Regions from separate parts of the Homo sapiens genome. Here region 1 is linked to region 2. The links are contacts of gene promoters, found by promoter capture Hi-C in blood cells and fetal thymus (Javierre and others, 2016). All regions are on one chromosome and are shown on one strand. Each heading gives the region's core, a stretch centred on a gene start or on the middle of the fragment in contact. The rest is flanking DNA. Distances are from core to core; before and after follow the strand shown.

Region 1 (3,805 bases), core at 1,282-3,781, 280 kb before region 2:
GGCAGAAAGCAGCTTAGTTACTGCCTAGGACTCAGATAGTAGAAAAATGGGGAGTGATGAACAATGAGTTTTCTTTTGTGATGATGAAAAGATACTGAAAACCATAAAATTGTACACTTCAAATGAGTAAATTATATCTCAATAAAGCTGTTAAAATATGTAATCATTCAATGATTTGGGGGGCATTCTTGAATATTGACACCTTTACCTTAAAAAAAGAGAGTAATTTTGAATTCCTCATGATACAACATTTCCAAAATATTTTGTTAATTTCTCAAAGATCATGGAATTTTAAAAAATCATGTATCCATGTAATAATATGGAAATTAAGGAATAAAATATCCTTTAAATTGGTGCTTTGGTGCTAATTTTTTTCTCAATATTTTTACAAAATAAAATTTATTTACTGTATTCTCTAATTATAATTGTTAACCTCTGTACTCTAATCTTTTGCTGTTTAAAGTGTGATCCATGGATCAGCAGCACTGGCATAACTTAAGAGCTTATTAGAAATGCAGAATTTCAGGTCCAGTTCCATATCTACTGAATCAAAACTGCCTTTTAACAGAATCCTCAGGTGATTCATTTGCATATTAAAGTGCTCTAAAGCAGTGATTCTCAAGATATAGTCTCCAGAAAAATAGCATCAGTTTTAGCCAAAAATTTGCTAGAACTTGAAATTCTCTGGTCTCACCCAAATGTACTGAATCAAAAACTCTAGCAATCTATTTTATCAAACTCCCCTGGTGATTCTGATCATGCTAACAAGTTTGCAGTAAAAGAGTCACTTCGTAGCACAATAGAATCACCTAGGGAACTTTAAAAAATCTTGATGCTCAGGTTGCAATTCATACCATTTAAATCAGGGTCCTTGTGTGGGATCCAGGTGTCGGTGTTTTTTTAAATTCCTCGGGTGATTCCAGTGTGCATTCAAGTTTGAAAATCAGTGTCCTAAAGAAGACAGACTATGCAAATTCATTTTACTGGCTATAGTTCTCAGAATTACTATAAATTATTGGATGACATTACATTTATCAGAAACAATAATTGACTGCCATTTTTGCCTTATCTTTTATAAGAGAGTTTGTCACACTTCATTCCCCTCCCACTCTGTTTCTTCCTTTACTTAATCTAGTAGAAACCCTCAGGTGACATTATTACCACAAACGTGGAAAACATTTCAAAGTGAAATTCAAGCCCTATGTTTAATAATCCTAGGGACTTACAAGAGGAAACAAGAGAACAAAAAGGGAAGTATTTGTTTTGAGAAGAGCAAAGCCTAAAGAAAAGGCTAATTCTATGAAAGGGTATAGCTGGCAGCCACTGCTACCTGGGTGAGCTTTATGGTAAATAAATTTAATCTCAATAATGCTGTTAAAAATATGTAATCATTTCATGATTTGCGGTGAAAGTGCAGGCATCTGCAGAAAGGTAGAAAGAGTGGAGTGGGAGTGAAATTTTCATGGAGAAGCAATGTTAGCACAGACCACAGATTCTGGTTATGGGGAAAAAAGGAAGAGGAAGGTCTCAGCTAAAAAATATACTGGTGGCAGCATTCAAGTGTTTCTGGAAAGATGAGGATCATTTTAATAAGTCAGTCATAGTCCACTTGTAACTAAGAGGAGTCCAGTTTGGGAGACACCACAAGGACCATGTCTTTCTGCTCTTAAAGTCATAGGGAAGATCTTGGATGAAAGTCAGAACTCCCACAGAGTATGGGAGAAATGAGGCCCAGCTCTGGTGGTTTAAAGAAATTCATATTAAATATGGAGGTGGCCCTTGGGAGGTTCAAACATTATAACTTTTTGGCTTAACCAGTGAATCCATTGCACACTCTGTTGCTGTTGTACTCAAAATATTGCTAGCAAGAAGACACTCTTATGATTATCAAGCTACTAGCAAAATGTTGCCTAAGAGTATATATTTTTCCCTCACAGGCGGTATTAGCTTGGGGATACCACTCCCAAATAAGAAGAAATTGATAAAAACTGCTTAAGCACTTTGAGACAGAGCTAAGAACTACGTCTTTGAAATATGTATTTTCTACCATATAAATTAACAGAAACTAATTGGAAAGCTGGAAAGAAAGGAGGGACTCTGGATGTGAACCCATAAACCAGAATTTACAGGCCTAAGATGTATGAGAAAACAAGGCGTATAGATGTCCTTCAGTGTCTTAGCCTTGCCAAAATTATTTGGGCAAGGAACTTGGTTCCTCTGAGGACTGTTCATCCTTTAAAGCAGGAAATAAAGCTTATGAGACAAGCTACATGCTACTGAAAATTGGTGGATTTGGGGGATAGTGTTGTAAGACCCATAGAATGCAAACGCTGTACTGTAACTATGGCCACACCACAGAAAGTTTTGCCAGAATGGTTAAGTTCTGAGTCAGAAAAGGGAACAAAAACCTGGAGGAGATGGCTCCCCTGGAGATAGCCCAAAGCCTCAAATCCATCTGTAATGATGCTGGAAGCAGAAAGGCCCTTGACTGAGGGTGTGGCCATGCAAAGAGTAGCAGACAAGTGCTTTGAACCTTCCTGAATATGCACTAATACAAAGTATACACATCGCCGCTGAGGGGTTTGGCAGAGGGGAATGGGAATCGGGTTTCTAGAAAGATAGGCTAGTCTGATATGCTTCAAAATGTTTCTGCAGATGCCTAAGGTTTCTGAGGTTCCTGAAGGTTATGTCAATTATCACTCACAATAAATAAAGTCTTGGAAAGGAGGAGGGATGGTATTCAAAGTTAATAGAAAAAAAAGTAAGAGGAATAAATCAAACATTGGTAAAGATTCAAGACTAAGCTTGATGGAAGCAGGCAATGGCTTTGAATAAAGTCTGGAGAGTCCACTGAGATAAATGCCTCCAGTCACTAAAAATTCAGTTTGGGGTGACTTTTGGCATTTATAATTTCCAAGGAATTTGTCCATCTCATCTAAACTGTTGAATTTGTATGCATAAAATTGTTTATTGTATTCCCTTATTAGCCTTTTTAATGTCTGTAGGGTCTGCAGTGATATCTCCCTTTCAGTCCTGGTACTGGTCATTTGTATCTTCTTCCTCTTCCCACTCTCCCATGTTAGATATGAGTTCTAAATTTCTTTTCAAAGAATCAATATGTCAGTATGTTCAATTCTTTGCCTTCTACTTTTAAACTTAACTTCCTCATAAAGCAACCTTTTTCGATTACCTGCTCCACTCTGACTCATTTCAATCACCTGCTCCACCCTGACTCATTCTGATTACCTGCTCCACCATGACTGATTCCGATTACCTACTCCACCCTCACTCATTCCGATTAACTGCTCTGTCATAACCATTTTTCCTCCCAAACCACTCACCCTGTCACTCTCTTTAAAGTAGCCAATCAGAATTAGTTTAGCCTGTGCGGTCTAACCCTAGCCAATAGGGGAACGACACAGCATCAGAGGCCATGTGTGTCGGGGTAAGAACCCCTTTCCCTCCCTTGTCCAGGTGTGCACTCACCATTGCTCCGTCTGTAAGGGCGCACCCTTCTATAGAAGTACCTTGCCTTGCTGATAATTAAAAAGAAAATTTTATATTCGAGTGCTATTTCTTTTGCGGTACCGAAACTTTATTTATAATACCCACCACCCATAGAATGTCTGCATAGAGTTTTACTTAGAGAACCACCTTTTGGTTTCATTGATTTTTCTCTACTATTTTTCTGTTTTCCACTTCATTTATTTCTGTTTTTATATATATCATTTCTACCCTTCTGCTTGTTTGGGGTTTAATTTGATTTTTTTTTTTTTTTTACTAGTTTCTTAAGAGGCTAACAAAT
Region 2 (4,061 bases), core at 748-3,247:
TCATTAAAAAGTCAGGAGACAACAGGTGCTGGAGAGGATGTGGAGAAATAGGAACACTTTTGGGCTGTTGGTGGGACTGTAAACTAGTTCAACCATTGTGGAAGTCAGTGTGGCGATTCCTCAGGGATCTAGAACTAGAAATACCATTTGACCCAGCAATCCCATTACTGGGTATATACCCAAAGGATTATAAATCATGCTGCTATAAAGACACATGCACATGTATGTTTATTGCGGCACTATTCACAATAGCAAAGACTTGGAACCAACCCAAATGTCCAACAATGATAGACTGGATTAAGAAAATGTGGCACATATACACCATGAAATACTATGCAGCCATAAAAAAGGATGAGTTCATGTCCTTTGTAGGGACATGGATGAAGCTGGAAAGCATCATTCTCAGCAAACTATCACGAGGACAAAAAACCAAACACCGCATGTTCTCACTCATAGGTGGGAATTGAACAATGAGAACACATGGACACAGGAAGGGGAACATCACACACCGGGGCCTGTTGTGGGGTGGGGGGAGGGAGGAGGGATAGCATTTGGAGATATACCTAATGTTAAATGACGAGTTACTGGGTGCAGCACACCAACATGGCACATGTATACATTTGTAACTAACCTGCACATTGTGCACATGTACCCTAAAACTTAAACTATAATAAAAAAAATTTTTTTGTTAATACGTGTATTAGTCTCTTTTCACGTTGCTGATAAAGACATACCCAAGTCTAGGTAATTTATAAAGAAAAAGAGGTTTAATAGATTCACAGTTCCATGTGGCTGGGGAGGCCTCACAATTCTGGCAGAAGGTGAAAGTCACGTCTTACATGGCAGCAGGCAAGAGAGAATGAGAGCCAAGCAAATGGGGAAACGTCTTATAAAACCATCAGATCTCATGAGATGTATTCACTACCATGAGAACAGTATGGAAGAACTGCCCCCATTATTCAATTATCTCCCACCGGTCCCTCCCACAACCCTTGGGAATTATGGGAGCTACAATTCAAGATGAGATTTGAGTGGGGACACAGCCAAACCATATCAATACATAATACTTCTACGTATTTATGGGGTACATGTGATATTTTGTTACATGCATACTTCAAATACCTCTACAGAGGCAGCCACTGTCTCCATCTGACAGTTTTCATGCAACACATGATTGAAGGCCCAGAGCTGCATATATAGAAAAACAGAAAGAAGGATTTTGCTATTTTTGTTTTATTATAGAATCTACTATTTCTCATTTTGGTTGTTCTTGTTGCTCTGTAGATTTGAAGAACATTGGCCATGGTCATGTTCAGAATTTTTCTGACATCAGTTCTGAAAATGGCAAATCATCAAGTGCAGGGGTCAGCAAACTGCTGCTGTTCTTTGTACATCCTACTAGCTGCGAATGGTTTTTACATTTTTTAAAGGTTGCAAAAACATAAGGAACATGCAACAAAGACTGTATGAGGCCCATAAAACTAAAATAGTATCTGTTCCCTTAGAGAAAACATTTGCCAACCCTTGATCTAGAGCATAAAAGTGACATTTCTTTACTCTCTAAATAATTAGAGCAAAATAACAAAGTTCAGGGAATTTATGACTCATGAAATCAAACTTACAGGAAACTCATTATTATAGGGTTAAGACTTTAGTATTTTTCTCAACAGCAAAATCTTCAAATTCTTAAGTGAAAATCTCATCTATTTAATATTACTCTGCTTACTTCTCATTTGGTGATGGGATGGAGGGATTAGAGAAGGGAGAAGGATATTTAGAAATAGGTTATAAAAGATGAAAATAAAGCAAACACATTACTGATTCTGCATATAAAGCCCTCAGTTTTCTGATTCTTGGCTGTCCACAAATGAACTAGTCATGGCATAAAAGTGAAATAGGATCCAAAGTCTGCCAAAGTTCCAGGTTCTGAGATGACATGTTTAATGATGTCATAGAGAAGTTATCCATGTATTCCAGGCAGGATACTGTAATAAATAGGAGACAGCTACAGTGATCCAACTAAACCAACAGGGGATTTTCATCAGCACTTCCCTGGTGTAATCATGGTACAGATTATTAAAGACACGGCAAGTATTTATTTGGCTTCACTGAGTATTTCAAATGTGGACATCTTGGGAACAGATTTGAAAAACTTTAAGAATGTGTTCTCTCTATCCAGTATTCTATCATTGCATTGTAGCAAGGGGAGAGTTCTAAATTCTTGTTCTTTATCTTGTTCCTTGAGGGATGGTACTATCAAGAAAAGCAGCCAAGGGTCAAATTGATAAAGAAGGGCTTTCTTCCTCCTGGACTTTTATTTCCTGCCTGACTTCAGGTGAATCCCAGACCAGCTCCTAGTACATCCCATCCTGTATCTGATCCCATGGATCGTACCTCAGTTGTGCTTGGAAAATTCCATGGAAGTAAGGAAGTCCACATCTTTTCTCTTATCCAAGGAAAAATAATAGAAACCCCAGATGTGGAATGGGGTGGGAAAATTGGGAACAGCCCAATGTTGCTGTCACAACAAATCTAAATTCATGTATAGGACAGAGATAATTCTTGATTTATAAAGGAGAAAATTGCCTCTAAAAGAGAGGTTCAGGGCTAGTTCGTTTAAGAGGTGGTGTGGGCATTAGAACCCAGACCTTCTGATGCCTGCCCTCATTACAAGAAGTCAAGAGCTGGAGGAGGGGAGGGGGTTTGGGGCCTGAGCCTCATGTCCACCAGCAGCCTCAGATTTAGACTTGTGACATTTTCCCCAAAGGTGGCTATACAGATCACAAAAATGACACTGACCAGATTGAAAGAGAGTACTGCCCTGTAACTTCGACATAAGAACATGTTTTGAAACATCACACATTTGCTAATGCTTTTGACACTTATTGTTTTAATATTCTGGGGATGTCACAGAATAGCCTGGAGCCTTATTCCCTCAGAAGACCTTTCATCTCCTCCCCAGGGACCTTTCCAGAGGCCCTGATCTCCATCCCATCTTTATTCAGATGCCACCTTCTCTTTGAGGTTGACCTTGGCCATCCAGACTACAGTTGTAATCCAACCCCCATTCTTCCTTCCTACTTCATTTTCTTTTTATTTTCTTTATTAGCAATTAGCACTAATATACTACAAATATTACCTATTGACCTTATAGTAAGCTTCCCATTCTAAAATGTAAACTCCATGGAGACAGAATGCCTAGTTTTTGTTTTGTTTTGTTTTGTTTTTGTCCACAGTGGTATCCTAGCAGTTTGTGCAGTAGCTGGCATAGTATAGGCCTCAATACGCATATGTTAAATAAATACCTATACTATGAGAGTATTCCCTTCAGATAGTTTAGTCAAGTCAAGTTCATGGGTCCAATTAGGCCAGCTCACACCCAAACAACAACTACTGGAAAGTGAAGAGTGTTGGGAGTTTGTGAGGATAGCATCTACCTTACAACTTCAGAAGCAAGTGAGAAATAAAGGCTTGGCAAGGTTCTCTGAAAAGTTAGTTACTCCCTCCCAGAGGAATATTGATAAAGAAAGAGAGTGCATCTTCTTTGAGTCATCACTTTCACCTGATTGAAACTAAACAAAGTAGCCACATAATTGTCAAGGCTATTATAGAGCAGGCATGTTGTATTAGTCTATTTGCATACTGCTATGAAGAAATGCCCAATACTTGGTAATTTATAAAGAAAAAAAGATCTAATGAACTCACGGTTCCACATGGCTGGGAAGACCTCACAATCATGGTGAAGGCGAAGGAGGGGCAAAGGCATGTCTGACATGGCGGCAGGCAAGACAGCGTGTGCAGGGGAACTGCCCTTTATAAAACCGTCAGATATTTTTAGACTGACTCACTGTCATGAGAACAGCATGGGAAAAACCCACCCCCATAATTCATTTACCTCCCACTAGGTCTCTCCCATGACATGTGGGGATTATGGGAGCTACAATTCAAGATGAGATTTGGGTGGGGACTCAGCCAAACTGTATCACATGTCATTTGTATGGATTAAACCCATCCATAGTGGGAATAGGCCTTGCTTGACTTAATACAATTAACAATCCCAT

The links. The method cuts DNA at HindIII sites, captures the fragments that hold promoters and counts their contacts. A CHiCAGO score of 5 or more calls a contact.
Region 1: a fragment that was not itself captured here is called in contact with the fragment with the promoter of TXNDC8 in region 2 in 3 of 17 cell types (M2 macrophages, M1 macrophages and erythroblasts); the score reaches 5.7 in M2 macrophages.

What each region holds. Positions count from the first base shown.
Region 1 is chr9:110,614,302-110,618,106 of GRCh38, reverse strand. LOC105376218 (a long non-coding RNA gene) reads right to left here. Exons shown (of 3, transcript XR_007061731.1): 1 at 855-3,805. Among named protein-coding and RNA genes, the nearest start is that of SVEP1, 36 kb to the right of the region's middle. RefSeq lists an enhancer at 649-818. The HindIII fragment of the contact is 551 bases long and covers 2,256-2,806 here.
Region 2 is chr9:110,335,799-110,339,859 of GRCh38, reverse strand. It overlaps TXNDC8 (thioredoxin domain containing 8), which reads left to right and starts at 1,997. Exons shown (of 6, transcript NM_001424031.1): 1 at 1,997-2,087. The coding sequence starts at 2,064. LOC124902245 (a long non-coding RNA gene) reads right to left here and starts at 3,656. Exons shown (of 2, transcript XR_007061728.1): 1 at 1,623-3,656; 2 at 1,218-1,335. The HindIII fragment of the contact is 4,418 bases long and covers 1-3,160 here.